Linked DNA regions of Homo sapiens: regions 2 and 3 are each linked to region 1. The links are contacts of gene promoters, found by promoter capture Hi-C in blood cells and fetal thymus (Javierre and others, 2016). All regions are on one chromosome and are shown on one strand. The core of a region is centred on a gene start or on the middle of the fragment in contact, and the rest is flanking DNA. Distances in the headings are between cores, read along the strand shown.

Evidence for each region. Contacts are between HindIII fragments. The CHiCAGO score rates a contact against its expected background, and 5 or more counts as called.
Region 2: a contact is called between a fragment that was not itself captured here and the fragment with the promoter of PIGM in region 1, in 1 of 17 cell types (endothelial precursors). The highest score is 7.8, in endothelial precursors.
Region 3: a fragment that was not itself captured here is called in contact with the fragment with the promoter of PIGM in region 1 in 2 of 17 cell types (megakaryocytes and M2 macrophages); the score reaches 7.0 in megakaryocytes.

The regions. Positions count from the first base shown.
Region 1 is chr1:160,030,323-160,033,400 of GRCh38, forward strand. It overlaps PIGM (phosphatidylinositol glycan anchor biosynthesis class M), which reads right to left and starts at 1,668. Exons shown (of 1, transcript NM_145167.3): 1 at 1-1,668. The coding sequence starts at 1,417. The coding sequence ends at 146. The HindIII fragment of the contact is 5,226 bases long and covers 1-3,078 here.
Region 2 is chr1:159,159,075-159,162,152 of GRCh38, forward strand. No RefSeq gene overlaps it. Among named protein-coding and RNA genes, the nearest start is that of CADM3, 11 kb to the right of the region's middle. The HindIII fragment of the contact is 642 bases long and covers 1,196-1,837 here.
Region 3 is chr1:159,175,551-159,178,628 of GRCh38, forward strand. The region is part of intron 1 of CADM3 (cell adhesion molecule 3); the gene reads left to right. It also overlaps the pseudogene RNA5SP60. Among named protein-coding and RNA genes, the nearest start is that of CADM3, 5.5 kb to the left of the region's middle. The HindIII fragment of the contact is 3,418 bases long and covers 1-3,078 here.

The DNA.
Region 1 (3,078 bases), core at 418-2,917:
GCAAACATTGCTTTTAAGTTCTGTTGGAACATGGGAACTTTCACTAGAATGCTTAGAATGTTCAGAAAAAATGTCCCAAAGCTCTCTTCTGGTCCATACAAGACAATCAGAATGTAACACAGTAGCAGAGGGTGTGGAACATACACTAGTCATATTTGATTCTCTCTGTCAGGGGTTCTTCTTTGTAATGGGAAATAATTTGAATCAGGATGGAACAATTGATAAGAAGAAAGAACAAACCAGCTAACCAAATAAACAGAAAGGTGTTCTTTCCTTGAAACTCTAGAACATAGGCAGGAGCCAGCCACATGGCCTGCCCTATAAACCATAACATTAGGAGAACTACAGCTCTTTTCCAAGGCATTCTGACTAGTGGCATCACAAGAGGCAGTAAGCAGAGGTACCAAAGAAAGTACTGGGAGGTGCAGACTTTGTTAAAAGTCACAAAAATGGACGTATGAAGAAAACAACAAAAAACGAGGTCTCTGTAATAGGCGAAAGACACAGCTGAAAGCAAGATGAGCTGTGGCAGGAATGCAGCAATTCCCAGGGAAAAACTCCACTTGCTCTCTGCAGTCAAATACAGCATGTAGAAGTACGGAGAAAAGTTGTGACGGATATCCCGCCTAGTCAGGTGATAAAAGTAGGTGTGTTCCAAAAATTCCCAGCCGTACTCATAGTAAAAACCAAAGCTCAGGGCAAAAAACGTGAGTCCAGCAACTGCTACAAACAGCAGCACAGCCCGATTACACAGCCTTTTCAGGAGCTCGTACAAACAAGCCTGGAAAGTGTACCGGAATTGACGGAGGCTTTTGTCATTGTCGCGATCTGGAAGCAGGTGGAGGGTTATGGGAAGGATGTAAGTCACTGGATATATCTTCATATGCACCGCGAAACCATAGAATACAGCTGCACACGCGACGAGTCTTTTCTTTATCAAGTAGAGGACCATCAGGACCAGGGAGGCGACAATAGAGTCCGCATTACCGCGGCTGGATACTGCCATAGGCAGGGGGTTAAGAAGCCAAAAGACACAGTAGCCACAAGCCTGGCGGCGCCCCAGCCCCTTCAGCAGCAGCAGGCGGTATAAGAGGAAAGCGGTGAGGAGGTCGCAGCTGATGAAGAGAAACTTTCCAAAGAGCTCGCTGAGGTAGATGTTGGGAGTGAGGAGCCAACCCAGCAGCGGGGTGTAACGGTACGTGGCTCTCAGGTAAGGCGAGCGCCCCTCCGTGACGAAGCGCGCGGCGTCGGTGAAGACCTGGTAGTCGATGTCCGTATACCTCACGTGCAGGGTCCGGTCCTGGAAGACGCCATAGAAAACCAGGGCGACTCTGGCTAGAAAGGCCACACCAAAGACGCCGGCTGGAGCCACCTTCAAGTTCAGGAGCCATTCGCCCCAGTGCTTGGTGGAGCCCATGATCTGACCGTGCGACAGCTGCTTAGCCCCAGCTCCAAACTGCCTTCGTACTTCTAACCTTCCCTTCGGTTCTTTGCAGCAGGTGGCCGCCGCATCTCCCACCCGCCAGGCTGCCAACCGAAACGACTGCAGACTATCACATCCGGCATGAAGCCCCGCCCCCGTACTGCTACCTGTCTCCAGCCCCGCGCGGTCTTCTCAGCCGCCCGAGCCAAAAACTTGCCTTCCTCTGGATGGACGGTCTCGCTTCCGCTTCTTCTTCCAGCGGAGGCGGGATTTCCGGTCCGTGGGAGGGGAGACGTCCGCTTGCCGGGAAATCCGGCACTGGCTTGAGGATTTTATGGAGTGGAGTGAGATTTCTTTGTAAGTGACAGCCCGCCGCCCCCCGCCCTCTTCCCGCGCCCCATTTCCAGTCCTCAGAGGAAAACCCTCCGACGAGCAGCGAGCTGCGGGCTGCGCGCTACATCCTTCAGTCCTGGGCTGGAGATCCGAGAGTGAAAAATGTAGGAGTGAAAGGAAGATAAGCCTTCTCATGCTTTACTCCACTAGCTCGCCGGTATTCACCGGGGATTTGTGGGCCCCGGACAGGACAGGATGAGTTGAAGGGGGCTGAGTGTGTATGTTCCATGCAATATTGGAGGCATACTTATATTTTTAAATTACTAGTTGGTAATCAGAGATTCAGATTTAAGTGGGCAGCTTGTATTTTATCCGGCAACCCTAGGTGAAGGTGATGGGAAAGAAGACAGGAAAGCGTCACAAAATTCCTTAACTTGTCAGCCCCTTATGCCTCAGTATCTCTGTATTTGCTATTTCTTCTGTCAAAGTTGCCATCCGCTCTCCAATCACTCTGGCAAATACCTACTCAACCCTTCAGGCATCAGTGCAAGTGTTAGCTCCCAGCTCCCACTCACTTCCTCATCACGCAGAATGAATGACTTAGATGCCAGTCCCCTCCCCTGTCCGAGGATAGGTAGACTGGGGCGGACGGGATCTAAGTTCCAGAAAATCACTCACACAGAAGACCCTGCCATGCTACTAAAAGTTCTCCCAGTGCTCCAGAACTCCCTGGTCATTCCTTTGTTACAGCATTTGTCACACTGCTTTGTAATAACTGTTTTTGTTTGTTTTGCTCTCCTAGTTTTCCATCAGGACACTTTCAATTCTTCGGTATCAGAGATTATCTTGTTCTTTTCTCTACCTCAACATCTAACACAGTACTAGTAGCCATTCAGTAAAGTTGAATTGATTTTAGAGGTTCCTCCTACCAGAATATTTCTAGAGTGGCATCTTTGGATTGCTCCCAACTCCCAGTTATTTTCCCTTTTAAATATCCTTTATGTATGTCAAGGTCCCCTGCTCCCCCCACCCCACTCCAACCCTACTTCCATGAATTTCTTGCCAAGGACTGTAACCCATTAGCTCTTCCCTTTCCGTGGTTACTTAGTGCACTTACATAGTCCGCATTGTAGAATTTGATACTTTATTTTAGATTGTATTCATAGCCCTCACAAGAGATTATAGGGTTCTTGGGGGTAGAAATTATATCTTATCCTTAATTTTTTTCAATTATGTGTAATTTATTGTAGTCTTAGGCACATGGTAAATGCTTAGTAAATACTGACTAATTGGATTTTATAGAATAAGCCTGCTTCCTAGGG
Region 2 (3,078 bases), core at 267-2,766, 870 kb before region 1:
CTCCCTAACAATATATAAAGGTGCCTATTTCCCTAAGCACTTGCCAACACTGAGTATTATCCATCATTTTAATTTTTTAACAATCTGATGGGTTCTTTGATGCTTTTTAACAGTCTAGGATCTCTTTGGTGCTATAACTTGTATTTCTCAAAATCCAAATGCCGTTGATCATCTTTTCAAATGTTTATTAGACAACTGTATTTTTTTTCTGAGAATTCATACTCATATCCTTTGCCCAATTTTCTCTTGGACTGTTTGTCTTTTTTATGTTTATTTGCTGACTATTTTGCATGTTAGCAATTTTGATACTTTGGCATATATATTGCAAATAAAATCTTCCCAGTCTGTGACTTACTTTTACATTTTGTCTATGGGTCTGCAATTATATCAGTTTTAAAAATTATGCAGTAAATCTTATCGGTCCTTTCCTTTATCGACTCTAGGTGTTGTGTCTTGCTTAGGAAGGTCTTTCCCACTCTAAGATTAAGTATATTTTTCGACAGTTTTTGCAAACATTTTTAGTGTTGTTTGGTTTATAAAATTTAGCACAAGTCCACCTGAAATATATTGTCGTATATGGCATAAGGAAAGGCTAAACCTATCCCATACCAACTGACAAACAGATAACCAATTATTCTAATGTCTTTAAACAGTACAACCCTCTAGTCACTGATTAGAAGTGTAGTATATAATGAAGGTAGCACTCTTCATACACTAAATTTCCAAGTTGGTTTGTAACTACACTCTCTCTTCTGCTCCATGGTTCTATTTATGTATTCCTGTGCCAAGATTTCATGTTTTAATTGCTATAATTTTAAAGTTGCTTAGGATAGCTAGAAAATCATCCTCCCCCTTAGCCCCATGTGTTTAAAAAATTATGGCTATTTACTCTTGACTTTATCTTCCAAGGGAATGTTAGAATAGGCTAGTCAAGTTCCATAAAATATCTTATTGGAATTTAGCATAGTATTGCATCAAATTTATAAATTAAAAATTACCATCTTTACCACAATGAATCTTAGAATTAATATTTAAATACCAATTCAACAACATAACGTCCTGCTACAATTTTTTTTCCAACTGACATTGGGATAAAGATAAAGCTCTTCAGTGTCTAGTTTTCAAATCCCACCTCCCAAATTTGGTTTAAACTAGCCATCTCATCAAATTGATTTCCCTTATTTTTCATCCACAAAGCTTTTCAAACCAGTATACTGATTCTATCCTAAATAATCCTTCATTCCCTGTGCTAGAGATGCCATGCAATTAGGAAAGGGATAAAGCAGTTATATTCTTTGTCTACACATCCTCACTTTGAAGTGCTAACATTCTGGGTCTATCCAAGATCCATCATTACCCTTTAACAAGGCAAGAATAGGTATACTTTTCCTTATTAACTTAAACAGATTTGAGTTTGCAGGGGGAAAAATAGAGCTTTTTATGATTAAATAATCTACGACAATACAGTCATCCCTCAGTATCTGCTGGGGATTGGCTGCAGGACGCCCACACCCTTGCCACAGGATACCAAAATCTGCACATACTCAAGATCTACAATTGACCCTGTGAAAACAGCGGAACCAGCAGAACCAGGAAACTGGCATATAGAAAAAGTCTGCCCTCCCTATCTGCAGTTTGCCCATCCGGAGAATATTGTTTGGTTGCAGATATGGAGCCTGGAGATACAGAGGGCAAACTGTATTTATTGAAAAAAAAATCCATGTATAAGTGGATCCACACAGTTCAAATCCATGTTGTTCAAGGGTCAACTTGTTTTTTCGTCATTCATGGGAAAGAGAACTTGGTGTTGAGCAAGGAAACAGATAATGTGATCTGAAGCTTGAGGAGACCTCACTGGGTCCAAACTCTCAACATGCAGGAAAGAATTCATGCAGTCTTTGACAGATCGGTAAATATTAAAAAGAAGTGAGAAAAGGTTAGAAGAACTGAGATAACACTACCTGAGAAGAGAAGACTAAAATTAAACTGAAAAATGTTTCAAGTGTGTGTTAAAACTTGGAGGAGGTGGGAGTTGGGTCTGCCAAGAAGTCTGGGAGAGGCTGCATTACAGCAAAGTCACCACACTGAGGGAGCAGAGGATCAGGAATGACAAAGGGTCAGGGTGGCCACACGAGGGTAGCAGAGAGCAGGTTAACAGAGAGACCTTGGCGAAAGTGAAAAAAGTTATTGGAACTGAAAATCTAGATCCAAGCAGTGCTTTATACTCGGACAGTGAACACAGGGCAAGATTCTATGGTACACTCAGAGAAACAGAGGAACATCTCCCTGCTCTAGGGTGAAGAGGTCACAGAGAAAGGTAACTAACAAACATGTATTGGGTTCTATGCTAGGAGTTTTACATAAATGTCCTCATTTAATAATCTTTATAAGCCTACAAGATAGACAATAACAATGTCTGATGTTTAACACATGAAAAGACTGATCTCAAATGACATAAGTGGCACAGCTGGTATTTAAGCCCAGATGAGTCCACTTTCTAAATCCAGGCTTTCTCACTCTCCTGCACTCTTCTGCCTTTCCAATGAGTCAGAAGTGTCTCCTTGGAGCTGGGCCCAGAACCTGGTTAACTTTCTCAAAGCAGCACACACAGTCGTTCCTAGGCCTTCACAGTCCACATGAAAAAAAGCTATGGCCTTTTGTGAACATGGTGAGAACACCAAATGTATCTGCATCCATTCTTGGCTTAGCCACAAGGAATAGCAGCAGCAGTCATCAGCCTGACAGGTATGGGCACACAGGCACAGCGGTCCACAAGGAAGCCCTGGGACTGGAAACTGGTGGCAAACCTCAACAGATGTCACCTTGCTAGGGCATACTACTTTCAGTAATAGCAAGCTCTGGGATTTTAGGGTTTAAAAAGATTTTAAGACCAAAATGCACCACAAGAAACAGATTAAAAATAATCTGAAAAGAAACAGGTTAAAAATAAAGAACAGTAAAAAACATACAAGAGGGCATGGAATAGCATATCATAGCTTATCATGTTCAACTCATGACCATCAGCCATAGCCTCACTCACCTACTGGACCTGTCCTGAACAAAACTATTTAAGTGAAA
Region 3 (3,078 bases), core at 320-2,819, 850 kb before region 1:
GAAATGGTGAAGTAAGACCTATATCCCTTTTCCCTGTCTTACTGGCTTTTACACATTCTTATAATCCTTAAGGAACTACCTGGGGTTCTACCACACAGTTCAAAATCCTCTGTCCTAGACTGATAGAATGAGCCAGCTTACTACCCTTAGGCTCTTTCTCTTTCCTCTTCCAACTGAAGAAGAAAGAAGGTCCAAATCTAATTGCAAGAGTGCCTTGTTGGAGATATTCACTATTCACTTGGAGAGAGTGACTCATAGTTCTGCAGCCATAAAATTCCAGAGACAGCATCGCTTTGGCGTTCTGGTTACTTTGAAATAACAAACTGAGAGGTTGTGCCATTGCTCTGTAAATTCTTAGATTTGATTTTGGTACTTCTTGATGTTACTACTTTCTTGCAGTCCAAATAATATGTAAAACAGGATCAAAAGTTTATTTTCCTTAAATCACTTGGTAGGAAAAAATATCACCAGAGAAAGAAAACCCCTGGGGCTGTGACTAGTCTTATTCTTTGTTGTTTCCTACTCCAGTGGAACTGCATACTGGCTCAACAATCCCTTTTTTGTCATCTAATTCTCAGTAATGGAATTTTACCTAAGGATGGTGATCTAGGTTCCAGATTCTTGTTGAAAGCAAGCTGTGGATTGGACCAGCTACTTACTGACTACTGAGTGAAAAATTCAAAGTTATTATAAAGTTTTGGTAATTATATTTTCTTTTATTTTTCATGTTAGAATGTAATGTTTCATGTTTAACACTGACTATAGGCCCATGTACTAGAACATTTTGTTTCCTGTATGGGGTCTTGTTTTAGAGGTCCACCCTTAATCTCTGAGAATAGCAATCCCCATGGAAATGCTTACAAAAGACAGAGAGAAACAAACCATCAGAAAAGGACCCTGGAGAAGCAAGCCATCAGAAAAAGATTCTGTTTCTAAGAACTTGCTCCGATTAAGTATAAATACTTCAGGTCATCATAAAATGAAGAAGAACAAGTTTCCAGGGCTAGAGACCTGTTTCTGCCTCTGGGATCAGCAGTAGTGATGATTTTTTACAAGGTCAGAACCAGCTGGTGCCCAGGGCTCCAATAACTACCCAAGTAAAAACCCAGTCCAATTCTGTTATATATGACAAGAAGATCCATCCCTTCTAGTACAGAGAAGTCGAGCTCTCAAGAGGCTTGAACGCATGAATCTGTTGAGATTTTTACACAATAGAAGCTAAGATGCTAAGAAGTAAAGGTACATATTCTTCACTGAAGCAGCAACTACTAAAGAATCATTTCTTTCTTTACCAAAATTTTCCTAAGCCTTAAGGCCGTCATCAAATTCCTCAACTAACAGAGAAACTTCTAAATCCTGAGAACAATACTCTTCTTAAGAGGCATGATTCCATACCTCTCTTCTAGTGTGATTGTCTGAACTACTTACAGCAATTTTGGATACATTGGGACATTCTGAGTCTGATACGTCTCATACCCTACCTGACGAAAATACATATTTTGACTTTCTTGCATCCTACTGTCTCTGAGGGGGCACAGGCTCTCTGTTCCCTCTTTAGAAGATAGGCCTAATTTTACTCACGGTAAGTTGTAGCACATTAAAAGCCCCTCCATCACCACTAATATCTAGGTATTTAACATAATCACAGAAGATCATGTTGACAAACTGAGTCTGGTGGTGGTCCTCATTTTTCAGCACAGTCTCTTGACTGTGTATCAACCAGACAGGTTCAAATAAAGCACTTCAGGAGGCCTTATAGAGCAAGTGATGAGCGTAGAGTGATCCTAATAGAAGCCATGATGTCTGTTCTTTTAGTTCCTGTGCTTGAGAGCTGGCTGCCTTACCCCGTGATCCCAGTTCCCCTGTTCTTTATGGAGCAAACTATTATACCTGTGCTTTGAGCTCTCCATGGTGCTAGCCCCTGACAGTGACACTCCAGGCTTTTCTTGTTGCTCTCCATGGTCCTGTTTTACCTCCAAGTTTCATAATCTCCTTATTCTCCACAGTGCAGTCCCCAGAACAGGGCTGAAATCTCCCTCCCTGCCACCACAAACACACAGGTTCTTGGTTATGCTCCCCGACCTGTTCCACCACAAACACATGACAAAACTCTGAGATATAGATCTAGAAAGTCCTCACAGCCATCTGATCAACTGCAGAAAGGGAACAGAAGGGCAAGCAATTCTTAGGTTAAAAAAGAAGTGCTAGAAGGTTTTTGTAAGATGCTCAGGAAATTGTGGCCTACAGTGACCTCAAATGGCCTCAAAAGAACTGAATGTTTTGTCATATCTGGATTCATAGATTAAAAATACAACTATATATAGTTCTGTTTTAGATTGAGATAGTATTGCTCTTATATGATAACAATATACAGTTGTACTTTGGTATCCATGAAGGATTGGTTCCAGGACCTCCCACAGATACTAAAATCTGCAGATGCACAAGTCCTTGATATCAAATGGAGTGGCATTTGCATATAACCTATGCACATTCTCCTGTATACTTCGTTATCTCTAGATTACTTATAATACCATATACAATCTAAATGCTATGTAAATAGTTGTTTTACTGTATTGTTTAGGCAATAACGACAGGGGAAAATGTCTATACAAGTTTAGTACTGGCACAGCTTTTAAAAATATTTTCAATCTGCAATTGATTGAATCTATGGAGGTGGAACCCATGTATATGCAGGATTGACTGTATACACTATAAGTGTGGAATGTAAAATGAATCCTACCCAGTTTATAAACATGTACCTCTTAATAGCACTCTGAGCATGACAACCAACTCTAACTTTCCTGTCATGGTGCTTTTTTACCCTTTTCCCTCAACCTTAGCAAAGACAATACATAACAATGGGTTATCAGAATAGATAATGGAGGAATCCAGTAAATGAGAGGCATAGAAAGCAAGTATCAAGTGTACATCCATACCGTCCTGAACGCACCGGCTCTTGTCTGATCTCGGAAGCTAAGCAGGGTTAGGCCTGGTTAGTACATGTATAGGAGAAAACAAATATCAAAATCTTGACTTAACTTCCCCACCTTTATAACCACCTTGTACAAAACTAAATGG